2 separate regions of the Homo sapiens genome follow, and region 2 is linked to region 1. The links are contacts of gene promoters, found by promoter capture Hi-C in human tissues and cell types (Jung and others, 2019). All regions are on one chromosome and are shown on one strand. Each heading gives the region's core, a stretch centred on a gene start or on the middle of the fragment in contact. The rest is flanking DNA. Distances are from core to core; before and after follow the strand shown.

What was found. Contacts are between HindIII fragments. The study calls those that stand out against the background at their distance.
Region 2: a fragment that was not itself captured here is called in contact with the fragment with the promoter of PIK3CA in region 1 in 1 of the 25 tissues and cell types used here (lymphoblastoid cells).

Annotation. Positions count from the first base shown.
Region 1 is chr3:179,146,951-179,149,888 of GRCh38, forward strand. It overlaps PIK3CA (phosphatidylinositol-4,5-bisphosphate 3-kinase catalytic subunit alpha), which reads left to right and starts at 1,407. Exons shown (of 21, transcript NM_006218.4): 1 at 1,407-1,653. It overlaps PIK3CA-DT (PIK3CA divergent transcript), which reads right to left and starts at 1,023. Exons shown (of 3, transcript NR_125401.1): 1 at 966-1,023. RefSeq lists enhancers at 122-231, 842-961, 1,771-2,270, 2,832-2,881 and silencers at 1,452-1,921, 1,982-2,031. The HindIII fragment of the contact is 8,069 bases long and covers 1-2,938 here.
Region 2 is chr3:177,233,625-177,236,562 of GRCh38, forward strand. All of the region lies in intron 2 of LOC107986053 (a long non-coding RNA gene), which reads left to right. Among named protein-coding and RNA genes, the nearest start is that of TBL1XR1, 38 kb to the left of the region's middle. The HindIII fragment of the contact is 8,518 bases long and covers 1-2,938 here.

The sequences.
Region 1 (2,938 bases), core at 157-2,656:
GGTTCGAGAAAAACATTTAGAAACACAAACCCCTGGAATGTGAGATGAAAATCCGAGCTAAAGGGAGAAAAAGGACGAAAGAAAGAAAACACAGAAAAGAAAGAAATACAGTCAAGTGAAACTACGACCACAAAGAGGAACAGATCCATCTCATTTACCATTGGGGTATGGACGGACGTGCGGTGTTCGAGAAGACTGTTATTGGTCAGAGTTTTGCTCTAGAGGACAAGTAGGACTGTAACATCTCTAGGATGGGTCACTTCCCAAGCCCTCTATTACTTAAAAATTCAAGGAGGAACCGATGCTGGAGTACTTGTATCTCAGACTTCTAATCACTGCTCCTACGCTTTTCCAATATTACAACAAAAGACCAGTAGGGGGAGAAAAACGCACAGTACCGAACCCTTATCAGTAGTAATCTCAAAAGTCAACAGATTGATTTACTCTCAAGCAAACAGACTTCTAAGGTACGCAGCACCAAGACACTACCTTGAATCAAATCTATAGCCTATATGACATTTCTGAAGTCTCTGTTGGCATTACGCGAAAAATCCCCCACGTCTTCTGAATAGTTAGAATTGAATCCTACAAGCTGCTTCGAATCAGAATTCGATTTAAAAAAAAAAATGAGGGCATAGCAAAAGGTCTCCACGAAGTGAGTCAAAGGACTGCAGAGGGCTGTGACAGTGCATTCCGCCTTCGGGATGGTATACAACTTAAACCATGTCGGCAGAAGAACGCACAGCAACGCTTTGTAAAAAGCATTCTTTCTATTATAGAATCCATAACCACGCTGGTTAGCCACTGACAGCGGCGGTTAGCCACCGCACCTCCTCTCACCCCCGAACTAATCTCGTTTCCTCTATGGGTGTAAAAGTGAAATAACCCACTTGCTCCCAATATTCCTTTCTATATCTCTACCCCAGCTCGCCTGCTGCTCGTAGAAACAAATATACTACACGTACGCTGTCCTAGGATGACACAACACCCTCACTACTGCAGAAGACGGATCATTAAACAAACGTCAGAAGAGCAGCCCCAACTGTACATAAACTTCGGGCGGAAAAGCAAGACGCAGGCGCAGTAGCACATATTGTTACCCTATTTGCCCACTCCCTGCTCCTCCTCGCCTCAATTTCGCTTCCGCTTCTTTGCGCATCTGCTTCCGGGGGATTGTAGGCTCTGCCCCTCCTCAGCTCTTACCCTCTTCTGCCGGAGGAGGGGGGGGGCCGAGGGGGTGGGGAAGAGTTCGTTGTTTGTTTACACGATGTGAGCGGAAAAAGAGACCAATAAAGTTTATTCTGGAAACAAAAGGAAAAAAAAACAGGGGCGACGGAGAAAGGAGTCGGGGGCGGGGGCGTGTGGCGGGGGCTAGCGAGGAGAGGGAGCGAGAAGTAGAAAGCGGCAGTTCCGGTGCCGCCGCTGCGGCCGCTGAGGTGTCGGGCTGCTGCTGCCGCGGCCGCTGGGACTGGGGCTGGGGCCGCCGGCGAGGCAGGGCTCGGGCCCGGCCGGGCAGCTCCGGAGCGGCGGGGGAGAGGGGCCGGGAGGCGGGGGCCGTGCCGCCCGCTCTCCTCTCCCTCGGCGCCGCCGCCGCCGCCCGCGGGGCTGGGACCCGATGCGGTTAGAGCCGCGGAGCCTGGAAGAGCCCCGAGCGTGAGTAGAGCGCGGACTGGCCGGTAGCGGGTGCGGTGGGAATGGGGACCGGGTGGGTGCCGGAGACTCCCGGGCGCGCCCGCCGTGTTGGGCGGAGGCTACGGGCTGGTCGTCTCCCAGCGTCGGCCCGCGGCGGAGTTCGCCTGCGATCGCCGCACCCTCTCCCTCGCCTGCCTCTGGCCTCTCCTAGCTGCAGAGGCGAGGGCTCGCCGCTCCCTCTCCTTTCTCTCTGGCTGCCGCCTCGCTCTTCCTTTGCTTCTACTCCCAGTTTTGGGGACGGGGCGGCTGGAGGTTGAGGAAGTGCGCCCAGGGCCGCCGCCCCGGCCGCGGTGGCTCTGTCTCCCGCGCCCTGCACGCCCACCCAGCCCGCGGGTGGAGGGGCTGCCGCGAGGACTGCGGCTCAAGGGACGCGGGCGCGAAACCGCGAGCTTTTCTTGAGGGGCTGTCACGCCCGAGGACTCCGGCCCCGCCAGCCTGGCGGCCCTGCGTTTGCCTCTTACTGGGTTTAAATCGCCCGGCAGGGGTATGGAAGGAACACCGCTCCCCTCACCCCCGCCAGCTCCCCTCCCACCCTTCCTTTCGAGGTTGTTTTTTCCTTTTAGCTGAGACAAACGCTTAGATCTTTCATTCATAGACCTGAGACACTGACTCATGTGACTTGTCTCTTTACTAAGTGTATTATGTGATGCCTGTTCCATGGCTCTTAAGTGGCTCGGAAAGGTAGGGTAGGGCCCGGGATTGGGCTATGTAAACACCAGACGTTCAGCCGGCGTGTTTTTGACCTCGGCTCGAGGGGTTTATTTTAGGATGCTAAAGGAATAGTGATGGTGGCCAACCGTGTTACCAGACTTGGGAATCGAAAGCTATTTTTTTATGTCAATAATTGAGACTGTTTACATGGTTAAATAAAGGGTAGGGTAAAGGGAGCGCAACAAGAGGGTCTTTCTAGAAAACAGTCTGCATATTCTTTAATGAATTAGAGTTGTGATTTCATCTTGGTGAAGCTTCCTCATTCCAGCACTGCGCCTTTGTGCACATGCAGGACCTGGGTTTTCGGAACGATGTTTTGAATCATAGTTTGTGTGGCCGGGGAGAACCCCTTAGAATACTTGGGTAGGTAAATTCCAGGTTATCTCAGGGGATTATTTCTACTGCGACTTTTGAACCACTGAGGGCAATATTGGTCATATGTTATCCTGCTTAGAAATTGAATTTTTCTGAGTATTTGCTTACATTGCACCGTACAAAATTTGTTTATGTGCTGGATTGCGTGTTTTAAGAAAAC
Region 2 (2,938 bases), core at 241-2,740, 1.9 Mb before region 1:
GCATGAGTCACCGTGCCCAGCCCCAACAATTTTTGTTGGTAACATTTTGGATCTTTTTTATTTTTTCTTTTTTTTGAGACGAGGTCTTGCTCTGTCGCCCAGACTGCAGTGCAGTGGCGTGATCTCGGCTCACTGCAAGCTCCGCCTCCCGGGTTCACGCCATTCTCCTGCCTCAGCCTCCCGAGTAGCTGGCATCACAGGCGCCCGCCACCGTGCCCGGCCAACATTTTGGATCTTTTAAACCTTAAGTATTTAATGTTTTATAGGTCGATTCTTGTCTTTTTTTCTTTTCTTTTTTTTTTTTTTTTTTTTGAGACAGGATCTCATTCTGTCACCCAGGCTAAAGTGAAGTGGTGCAATCATGGCTCACTGCAGCCTCAATCTCCTGGGCTCAAGCGATCCTTCCACCTTGGCCTCCTGAGTAGCTGGGACTACAGGCGCACACTATCATGCCAGACTAATTTTTATTTTTAAATTTTTGGTAGAGATGAGGTCTCACTGTGTTGCCCAGGCTGGTCTCAAACTCCTGAGCTCAAGTGGTCTGCCTGCCTCAGCCTCCCAAAGTATTGAGATTACAGGCATGAGCCACTGTGTTTGGACTATAGGTTGATTCTAAAAGATGAAAAGTAATAAACAGCACTTAAGTTATCATGACTATGTAAATATTATTCACTGCAGAGATAAACAATGTGATGTATTTCCTGCTCTATTGTTCCAATATGACAACACTGGTAATAGTCAAAGAATGAATACAATGAATTCTCCCTGTTCCAATCTACCAAATGCTCAAAATCATGGCACATTTAAAAATATTAGCATCGCACCTTTTCTCACGGAGTTTTGTTTTTGTTTTTCCTGAAATTTTAATTACATTCCTCTCATTCTTTTTTACTGCTTTGTGTAAGAGTCTATGGCATAGATGCTCTATAATTTAGTTCACACTCCACTATTGTTGAGCATTTAGGCTGGTTTTTCATTTTTTCCTACTATGAATGATGCTTCAATGAATATCCTGCCCGTACATTTTTGTGTACATACAAATTTCTGTAAGATAAAAAGCTAGAGCTGGGTTGAAGAGAATATGCATTTTAAGAACCACTGACAAATAGCCCTCAGAAAGAGGCACTGCCATCTATATTCTCACCATCACTGTAAGGGAAGGTCTATTTTTTTTTTTTTCTTTGAGACAAGAGTCCCGCTCTGTCACCCAGGCTGGAGTACAGTGGCGCGATCTCGGCTCACTGCAACCTCCGCCTCCTGGGTTCAAGCGATTCTCCCTGCCTCAGCCTCCCGAGTAGCTGGGACTATAGGTGTGCGCCACCACTCTGGCTAATTTTTGTATTTTTAGTAGAGACTGGGTTTCACTATGTTGGCCAGGCTGGTCTCGTACTTCTGACCTCGTGATCCACCTGCCTCGGCCTCCCAAAGTGCTGGGATTACAGGTGTGAGCCACCATGCCGGGCCTGGTATAATTCTGTATAGTGTTTCTTAGACTCCTATTAATCATTTTGATTTTTGCCATCTATCTCATCGCTGTTTTAATTTTTTTTTCTTATTACTGAGGTAAAAAATCTCTTTGTAAGCTAATTGGCCTTTGGTATTTCCTCTGCAGAGCATTGATTTTTGGGGTTTTTTTGTTGTTGTTGTTCTTTTCTTTTCTTTTTTTTTTTTTTTTTGAGATGGAGTCTCGCACTGTCGCCCAGGCTGGAGTGCAATGGCGCGATCTTGGCTCACTGAAACCTCTGCCTCCTGGATTCAAGCGATTCTCCTGCCTCAGCCTCCCAAATAGCTGGGATTACAGGCACCCACAACTACGCCCGGCTAATTTTTGCATTTCTAGTAGAGATGGGGTTTCACCATGTTGGCCAGGCTGGTCTCAAACTCACAACCTCAAGTGATCCGCCCGCCTCAACCTCCCAAAATGTTGGGATTACAGGCGTGAGCCACCATGCCCTGCCTTTTTTGGTCTTTTTTAATGTTTAGGGTTCCTTATGTATTGTGAACATTAATTCTTTTTTGTGTTGAACAAGTTGTAAATATATTCTCCCAGTATATCAATTGTCTTTCAACTTCGTGGTGTCTTCTGTCAAAGAGAAGCTTTAATATTCATATAGTGAAAAAATCACTCTTTTAGGCCAGGCACAGTGGCTCACGCCTGTAATCCCAGCACTTGCGGAGGCCGAGGCAGGCGGATCATGAGGTCAGGAGTTCAAGACCAGCCTGACCAACATGGTGAAACCCTGTCTCTACTAAAAATAGAAAAATTAGCTGGGCATGGTGGCCTGCACCTGTAATCCCAGCTACTGTGGAGGCTGAGGCGGGAGAATTACTTGAACCCGGGAGGTGGAGCTTGCAGTGAGCCAAGATGGCGCCACTGCATCCAGCCTGGGCAACAGAGTGAGACTCCATCTCAAAAAAAAAAAAAAATCACTCTTTTTTTCCCTATAGGTTTTATACTTTGTGTTGCTTAAGATGGGCTTCCCTAGCCTAAGGTTAATAATCATGCTTTTCTCTGTGTTAGAAAATACCTTTATAGGTTTCTTTTTATATTTGGCTCTTTACCCCATCTAAAATGTTTTGTTTGTACATGATGAGGTAATTTTCTTCATTCTGTATGTGTGTATGACAAACTACAAATTCTCCAGCTCATGAGCAGAAAGGTGGTATGGTAACAACTTTTCCCTGCAATTCTTTTTTTTTTTCCTTTTTTGAGACAGAGTCTCACTCTGTCGTTCAGGCTGGAGTGCAGTGGCATGATCTCGGCTCACTGTAACCTCTACCTCCTGGGTTCAAGCGATTCTCCTGACTCAGCCTTCCAAATAGCTGGAATTACAAGCACACGCCACTAATGCCTGGCTAATTTTTGTATTTTTAGTCGAGATGGGGTTTCACCATGTTGGCCAAGCTGGTCTTGAACTCCTGACCTCAAGCGATCTAC